Linked DNA regions of Homo sapiens: all the other regions are linked to region 2. Evidence: promoter capture Hi-C in human tissues and cell types (Jung and others, 2019). All regions are on one chromosome and are shown on one strand. The core of a region is centred on a gene start or on the middle of the fragment in contact, and the rest is flanking DNA. Distances in the headings are between cores, read along the strand shown.

Region 1 (2,851 bases), core at 264-2,763, 98 kb before region 2:
TGCTGGCTGCCCCCTTCTCCTAGACAGAAATGGTGATGGTACAGACTAACAGATTCATACCTTCATACCTGTTGGAAATTATTTCTCCAGATAGACAGCTGCTGCCTAAGTGATACCCTGATCGGTCACCACAGCCACAAAGCTCAGTACTGCTGCAGAGCATCCTACTGTTTAACAGCTTGATCTAGGCACCAGGAAAAGGCTAGAGGGACCTTGGTTATCATCTTGAGCAACTTCACGAAGGCACACATACCCAACAATATTTGACAAAGCAAGCTAGCAGAAAATTCCTTTATTTCCATCCCCTAGGCCTACAAGTACCAGCCAATGATAAATAAAAGACATTTCACATCAAGAGTCGGAATAGCAAAGAGTTACAAAAAAACTCAAAGTACTTCGGAGTAACCTTCTCAGAGGCACACACACACTCAGGCTCTACTAAGAGTTGCCAAGCAGATCGTGGTGACTCAGAATCCATACCAATTTGGTCTGTAAGTAAAACTGGGGGAAAGGATAGACAAAGACTTTTTTTTTTTTTTTTTTTTTTTTAAATTTAGACAGGGTCTCACTATTTACCCCATGCTCATTTCAAACTCCTGGGCTCAAGTGATCCTCCAGCCTTGGTCTCCCAAAGTGGTGGGATTATAAGCTTGAGCCATAGTGCCCGGCCTACAAACACATTTTATCTTCCACAAATATTTATTTTATTTATTTATTTATTTATTCAATTTTATTGTTTTCTTGAGACAGAGTCTTGCTCTGTCAGCAGGCTGGAGTGCAGTGGTGCAATCTTGGCTCACTGCAACCTCCACCTCCTGGGTTCAAGCAATTATCCTGCCCCAGCCTCCCAAGTAGCTGGGACTACAGGCGTGCGCCACCACACCTGGCTAATTTTTTTGTATTTTAGTAGAGACGGGGTTTCACCTTGTTGGTCAGGATGGTCTTGCTCTCCTGACCTCATGATCCGCTCGCCTCAGCCTCCCAAAATATTTACTTTATTCACCCTGAGGAGACAGGACTTCTTCCCTCACATTCTTATGTCTCTCATAAGATTGTTTACTATGTCATAAGGAGTTTAATCCACATCCATTTCCTTAAAGAATTAGTTTTATTAAACTTCAGATATAAAAATAAATTTATTTTCTTATAATTATAATTGAAGGCCAGGCACGGTGACTCGTGCGTGTCATCCCAGCACTTTGGGAGGCCAAGGTGGGCAGATCACCTAAGGTCTGCAGTTCAAGACCAGCCTGGCCAACATAGTGAAACCCCATCTCTACTAATAATACAAAAATTGGCAGGACATGGTGGCTCACGCCTGCAGTCCCAGCACTTTGGGAGGCCAAGGCAGTCGGATCACCTGAGGTCAGGAGTTCCAGACCAGCCTGGCAAACATGGTGAAACCCCATCTCTACTAAAAATACAAAAATTAGCCAGGTGTGGTGGCGGGCACCTGTAATCCCAGCTATTTGGGAGGCTGAGGCAGGAGAATCACTTGAACCCAGGAGGTAGAGGTTGCAATGAGCTGAGATCGTGCCACCGCACTCCAGCCTGGGCAACAGAGCGAGACTCCATCTCAAAAAAAAAAAAAAAGAAAAAAAATTTACCCAAGCATGGTGGCGCATATCTGTAGTCCCAGCTACCTGGGAGGCTGAGACAGGAGGATCTCTGGAACCCGGGTGGCGGAGGTTGCAGTGAGCCAAGATTACGCCACTGCACTCCAGCCTGGCTGGACTCCGTCTCACACACACACACAAAATTTATAATTGGAAATTACTTGACATGTGGAGGAGGGTAAGAGAGAGAAAGAAGGACACTGAATTTCAAATTAATTCAAATGCTACCAAGTGCTAGGTACTATAGTAAGTGTTCTGGATACATTATTCGCCAAGAGTCACAACTTAAATGTATGTCACTCCTCAAGAAGTTTCCCTGACCACCCCTCTAAAATTGCCACCATGATGCATTCTCCCAATACCCTGCTTCATTTTCTTTATAGCACTCAGCTATCAGCTATTACATTGAGTATTTAGCACAGAGGCGAACGACTTAATCACATTCACTGCTTATGAATTAATGAGTGTTCTCAAAATTGGACAGACTGTCAGAATAGGATCCACCGAAAGCACACAGATTGGAAGCTTTTTTCTTCTCTCCAAAATTGGCATGTAGCAGTTTCTGACACATGGTTAGTACAGTTGTCCCTTGGTGTCCACAGGGGATTGGTTCCAGGACCCACAAGGACACAAAAATCTCAGGATGCTCAAGTCCCTTATATAAAATCACATGGTATTTGCATACAACCTACACACATCCTCCAACATACTTTAAACCATCTCTAGATTACTTATATCTAATACCTAATAAAGACTATATAAATAGTTAACTGTACTTTTTTGTTTTTTGAGACGGGGTCTCACTCTGTCACCCCAGGCTAGAGTGCAGCAGAGTGATCACAGCTCACTGCAGTCTCAATCCAGACTCAAGTAATCCTCTCATCTTAGCCTCCCAAGTTGATAGCCACCACACTTGGCTAATTTTTTCACTTTTATTTTTTGTAGAGATGGGGTCTCCCTGTGTTGCCCAGGCTGGTCTCAAACTCCTGGCCTCAAGCAATCCTCCCACCCGGGCCTCCCAAAATGTTGGGATTACAGAGTAAGCCACCACTCCTGGCCTGTATTATTTTTTATTGTTGCAGTGTTAATGCATTTTTTTCCTGAATATGTCCAATCAGCATTTGGTTGAATCTATGGGTGTGGAACCTGTGGATACAGAGTGTCAACTGTATTTGGTAAGTGATTCAGTGATGGACACTGAACAAATGGTCAATGAGAATCCTCTTAAGTCTAGG
Region 2 (2,975 bases), core at 274-2,773:
GCTATTCTCCTGCCTCAGCCTCCCTAGTAGCTGGGATTACAGGCACCCACCACCACGCCCGGCTAATTTTTGTTTTTAGTGGAGATAGTTTCACCATGTTGGCCAGATCTGTCTGTTCACCATGTTGGTCTTGAACTCCTGACCTCAAGCGATCCACCCGCCTCGGCCTCCCAAAGTGCTGGGATTACAGGCGTGAGCCACCACGCCCGGTCACATATTTTATTTTAAAAACATTTTTAGCAGTTTTTTTGTTTTGTTGAGTTTTGTTATGTTGCCCAGGCTGGTCTTGAACTCCTAACCTCAAGCAATCCTCCTGCCTTGGCCCCTCAAAGGAGTGCTAGGATTACAGGCATGAGCCACGGTGCCCAGCCCAGAACTACATTCTCATTGAAGAGAATAAGATCCAGCAAGGCCTACAGAGCATGTTGGAAGTGTCCTGAGAGCCAAAGCCCATGATTCCTCCATATCAGGGGGGCACTGGGTAGAGCCAGGAAGGAAGGGGGAGTCCCCAAGGCCCATACTGTGGACCCCATTATACAGCTTCCATATACTGAGGCTGCAGAGGAGGTATGGGCCTCCACTTACGTGCCTCTCTGACTCTGAGGTCCAGTCAGCAAGGCCAGATCCCATCCTAAGACCCTTATGGCCCTGGGAGAGCAGGGCATAACACACCTTCCTCTGACACCATCTTGTCGCTGATAGCTCAGGAGAAGCACATGGAAGAATGGTCCCGGCCGGGCGCGGTGGCTTACGCCTGTAATCCCAACAGTTTGGGAGGCTGAGGCGGGCGGATCACCTGAGGTCAGGAGTTTGAGACCAGCCTGGCCAACACTGTGAATCCTGTCTCTACTAAAAATACAAAATTAGCCGGGTGTGGTGGTGCGCGCCTGTAATCCCAGCTATTCAGGAGGTTGAGACAGGAGGAGGTTGAGGCTGGAGAATCGCTTGAACCTGGGAGGCGGAGTTTGCAGTGAGCCGAGATCGCGCCACTGCAATCCAGCTTGGGCCACAGAGCAAGACTCCTTCTCAAAAAAAAAAAAGGACAGTCCTTTCCCACAAAGGGTGGCGCCCCATAACATCTCTTGTAAGTGCCCCACATCTCCCCTCTGGTCTTCCACACAATCCTGGTCTCTGTTCTCCACATGGTGGGCCCCCAGGCCACCTCTGGGCACCAGCCACTGAGGGTGTTGCTACTAAGTGCAAACTAGTTCCACCGCAAGCAAAGAGCCCAGTGTCCTGCCCCCCTTCTCGCTGCGAACCAGTCGGTAGTGGGGGGATGGGATGGGACGGCTCAGACTGGCTCACCTCTCTCCAGGCCACACCATGCACATCCACCCACAGGCCGCTGAGAAAAAGGCGCCAAGACGCCAGGTGAAGGTACAGGAGCCAGGCCTCCAAGGGCCGGAAGAGTCGGATGGGCGGAGGGCCTGGGCTAGGCCAAGCCTTCCTCGCGGCCCCGCCCCCACGGCCCGACTCCGCCCGCCCAGCCCGGCGCCCTCGGGTCGGCTGAGCGCTAAGCGCCAGTGTACAGCGGCGGCTGGGGCGGCAGGTGAGGCGGCTGGGGCGTTGCTGTCGTGCGTCCGCAGGCGTCAGGTGCTCAGACCCGAGGGCCGGGAAGGGATTTGGGTTTCACAGGAACCTGGGGCGGGGGTCCGCTATCTTGGGGCTGTCGGGACCGCTGCTTAAATTTGGCCCAGTCCAGACCTCGAGTCGGGCCCCCAGCCAGGCCCACGCCCAGGTCCAGGCCCAGGCCGGTAGGGATCCTCTAGGGTCCCAGCTCGCCTCGATGGAGCTCCTCCCGCCGCTGCCTCAGTCCTTCCTGTTGCTGCTGCTGTTGCCTGCCAAGCCCGCGGCGGGCGAGGACTGGCAGTGCCCGCGCACCCCCTACGCGGCCTCTCGCGACTTTGACGTGAAGTACGTGGTGCCCAGCTTCTCCGCCGGAGGCCTGGTACAGGCCATGGTGACCTACGAGGGCGACAGAAATGAGAGTGCTGTGTTTGTAGCCATACGCAATCGCCTGCATGTGCTTGGGCCTGACCTGAAGTCTGTCCAGAGCCTGGCCACGGGCCCTGCTGGAGACCCTGGCTGCCAGACGTGTGCAGCCTGTGGCCCAGGACCCCACGGCCCTCCCGGTGACACAGACACAAAGGTGCTGGTGCTGGATCCCGCGCTGCCTGCGCTGGTCAGTTGTGGCTCCAGCCTGCAGGGCCGCTGCTTCCTGCATGACCTAGAGCCCCAAGGGACAGCCGTGCATCTGGCAGCGCCAGCCTGCCTCTTCTCAGCCCACCATAACCGGCCCGATGACTGCCCCGACTGTGTGGCCAGCCCATTGGGCACCCGTGTAACTGTGGTTGAGCAAGGCCAGGCCTCCTATTTCTACGTGGCATCCTCACTGGACGCAGCCGTGGCTGCCAGCTTCAGCCCACGCTCAGTGTCTATCAGGCGTCTCAAGGCTGACGCCTCGGGATTCGCACCGGGCTTTGTGGCGTTGTCAGTGCTGCCCAAGCATCTTGTCTCCTACAGTATTGAATACGTGCACAGCTTCCACACGGGAGCCTTCGTATACTTCCTGACTGTACAGCCGGCCAGCGTGACAGATGATCCTAGTGCCCTGCACACACGCCTGGCACGGCTTAGCGCCACTGAGCCAGAGTTGGGTGACTATCGGGAGCTGGTCCTCGACTGCAGATTTGCTCCAAAACGCAGGCGCCGGGGGGCCCCAGAAGGCGGACAGCCCTACCCTGTGCTGCGGGTGGCCCACTCCGCTCCAGTGGGTGCCCAACTTGCCACTGAGCTGAGCATCGCCGAGGGCCAGGAAGTACTATTTGGGGTCTTTGTGACTGGCAAGGATGGTGGTCCTGGCGTGGGCCCCAACTCTGTCGTCTGTGCCTTCCCCATTGACCTGCTGGACACACTAATTGATGAGGGTGTGGAGCGCTGTTGTGAATCCCCAGTCCATCCAGGCCTCCGGCGAG
Region 3 (2,811 bases), core at 38-2,537, 64 kb before region 2:
ACATTCCTACATTCCACTCCTGAATACAAATTTTGCTTTCTAATGGTTATGCAAAGATAAAAATAAAATGAAAAAAAAAAAAAAAAACTGGCCAGGCACGGTGGCTCATGCCTGTAATTCCAGCACTTTGGGAGGCCGAGGTGGGCGGATCACGAGGTCAGGAGTTCGAGACCAGCCTGGCCAACATGGTGAAACCCCATCTGCACTAAAAATACAAAAATTAACTGGGCATGGTGGCACATGCCTGCAATCCCTGCTACTCAGGAGGTTGAGGCAGGAAAATTGCTTGACCCTGGGAGGCGGAGGTTGCAGTGAGCTGAGATTATGTCACTGCACTCTAGCCTGGGTGACAGAGCAAGACTCCGTTTCAAAAATAAATAAATAAATAAATAAATAAATGTCATCCTTCACAAAAGTCTTATTTAAAGAAAAAAAAAAAAAGCAGGCCGGGCGCGGTGGCTCACACCAGGCGTGGTGGTGGGCGCCTGTAGTCAGTCCCAGCTACTCAGGAGGCTGAGGCAGGAGAATGGCATGAACCCAGGAGGCGGAGCTTGCATGAGCAGAGATCGCACCACTGCACTCCAGGCTGGGCAACAGAGCGAGACTCCGTCTCAAAAAAAAAAAAAAAAAAAAAAAAAAAAGCAATCCACCCCATCAACATACCTGAAGGTCCCGTTGGGCATCTCGGGCAGTTTTGCCCTCTGGAAAAGACTTGCTCTGGCCATAGCCAAACATCTGGCTTCCTGGCAGCCTATGATCCACATCACGGTACTCCATGCTTCTGTAATCGGTGTCTTGCCGCCCAAGAAAGTCCAGACCGCCTTCTTCTTTAAACAGACCAGCATCTGAACTCTGCTCTTCACGTCCAGAAAGCTGTGACTTATCTTGGTCTTGAACTGGACTTTGGCTGTTCTGAAAGTCTGCTGGAGACTCATGTTCAAAGGCTACACCTTGTGTTTCTCCTTCTCTTGTTTCTGAATGCTCAAATTCTCCCTTCTGAATGCCAAAAGCAGGCCTTTCTATCGTATGGTCATGTGTGGATTCTTCTCTCCTGTTCACATTCATACCAGAATGTTCTCTATCTTGTGTAGAGGGCTGAATGTAATCCAAAATATTTGGATCCACAGGGGGCATCTCCCTATCTTTAAATTCCATACAAGATCCCATCTCTCTGCCCCTAAAATCCTGATCAGTCCTAGATCGGTGTCTACCTCTGAAATCTGAATGTGGCGTATCCCTGTCCCTAAAGTCTAGATCAGTAGTACCTGAACCTCGGCCTCTAAAGTCTACTTGTGTTCCGTCTTTGTCTCTAAAGTCCAAATCAGATACATCTCTATTCCTAAAATCAGAACGGGACTGTTCTCTGGCCCTAAAATCCAAATCTGATAAATCCCTTCCCCTAAAATCTGCATGGGATCCATCCCGGCCTCTAAAATCTAAATCATAAGTGCCCCGGCCCCTGAAGTCAGATGGAGGAGCATCCCTACCTCTGAAGTCAACAGCGTGAGCATCCCTGTCTCTGTAGTTCATATGAGGTGCCTCCCTACCTCTATAATCCATAGAAGTACCATCTCCACCCCTATAGTCCATAGGTGGTCCTTCTCTATCCCGAAAATCCCCAGAATGTATGTCCCTACCCCTGAAGTCCAACTGTGATGAATCTCTGCTCTGGAAATCAGAAGACGAAAAATCTCCCCCCCTGAAATCATGTCCAGGTCCCTCCCCTCCTCGATAGTCACCATGCGGTCCGTCTCTAGCTCCATAGCTGAAAGAATGCTCCTCTACATTTGCAAAAGGAGGCCCCGAATGCCCCTGGAAATCAAAGGGAAGTGAATCTCTGCCAGGAAAGTTGCCAGAGTGTCTCTCTTGAGCATGACTCTTAAGGGGAGGAGGAGGATAATCCCTGTTCCACCCGGGAGCAAACCTTTCTTCTTGGCTCCCACTGTAGAAACAAAGACAGTGTTATTCATATTGTCCAGAGAGTTTGAAATCTACACACCAGCATATTCTTCTCTAATCACAGCACATTCTTCTGTAAACATTTTTTTTTTGGCAGAGTTCTGTAACAAGGTCCTAGATCTGCAGAAAACAGCAAAGTTTTGCTATTTTAAGACGAAGTGGCGGAGTAAACTTTTATGCTCCCATTTCAGAACACGAGGAAAGTCAACACAAGGTTTTCAACATGACTGCTGCAGAAAAAGCTTTCACCCAGTCCTGCAACAGGGAAAATCCGCAATACCAAATAAGCTAACAATGGTGACATACTACAAAAATTTCCATTTCCTACAGCCAGGGAACTTAAGAATTCCAAGGTCAACATGACGATTCCTATATATCAGAAAAATCAATGCACTGTAAATTTCTTACAGTAAGTTTCAGGAGGTATCTTTCTCACGCTGCATCCAGCGGTAACATTCAAAAATATTTTATTACAGATACAGCATGGACACCACCCAATCAAAATGGATGCAGGCCCAAAAAGAAGAAACACTGGTTGTAAATCACCAGTAGGAACAAGCACACCAGTGTTCACCAGCTGAGCATCAGCCCTGGCTGCATCTAAATCCCAGTTCTACAGTGGCTCCACCAAGAAGCACTCTAACCTGGGTCCTATTATAACTACCCAAGGGTATCACAGAAGGTAGAAGGTAGTATGAATCATGCCACAAAGCATGTATAAGTCATCTAAGCCACGCAACAGCATCCAGGGGCTCAATGCTGAGATAGACCTAGAGAGAGCATTAGGTCTTCAAGCATGATCCCCATGACCCAAATGAAGAAGCTGATATTCCATATTCCAATGTCTCATGC

Evidence for each region. The method cuts DNA at HindIII sites, captures the fragments that hold promoters and counts their contacts. A contact is called where the count stands out against the background at its distance.
Region 1: a fragment that was not itself captured here is called in contact with the fragment with the promoter of MST1R in region 2 in 5 of the 25 tissues and cell types used here (bladder, lymphoblastoid cells, mesenchymal stem cells and 2 more).
Region 3: a fragment that was not itself captured here is called in contact with the fragment with the promoter of MST1R in region 2 in 3 of the 25 tissues and cell types used here (lymphoblastoid cells, spleen and thymus).

Annotation. Positions count from the first base shown.
Region 1 is chr3:50,001,007-50,003,857 of GRCh38, reverse strand. The region is part of intron 6 of RBM6 (RNA binding motif protein 6); the gene reads right to left. Among named protein-coding and RNA genes, the nearest start is that of RBM6, 62 kb to the right of the region's middle. The HindIII fragment of the contact is 4,044 bases long and covers 1-2,851 here.
Region 2 is chr3:49,902,421-49,905,395 of GRCh38, reverse strand. MST1R (macrophage stimulating 1 receptor) reads left to right here and starts at 1,523. Exons shown (of 20, transcript NM_002447.4): 1 at 1,523-2,975. The coding sequence starts at 1,787. RefSeq lists enhancers at 478-1,150, 1,139-1,188, 1,825-2,498, 2,499-2,975 and a silencer at 1,379-1,598. The HindIII fragment of the contact is 20,801 bases long and covers 1-2,975 here.
Region 3 is chr3:49,966,601-49,969,411 of GRCh38, reverse strand. RBM6 (RNA binding motif protein 6) reads right to left here. Exons shown (of 21, transcript NM_005777.3): 3 at 664-1,942. Among named protein-coding and RNA genes, the nearest start is that of RBM6, 28 kb to the right of the region's middle. The HindIII fragment of the contact is 6,700 bases long and covers 1-2,811 here.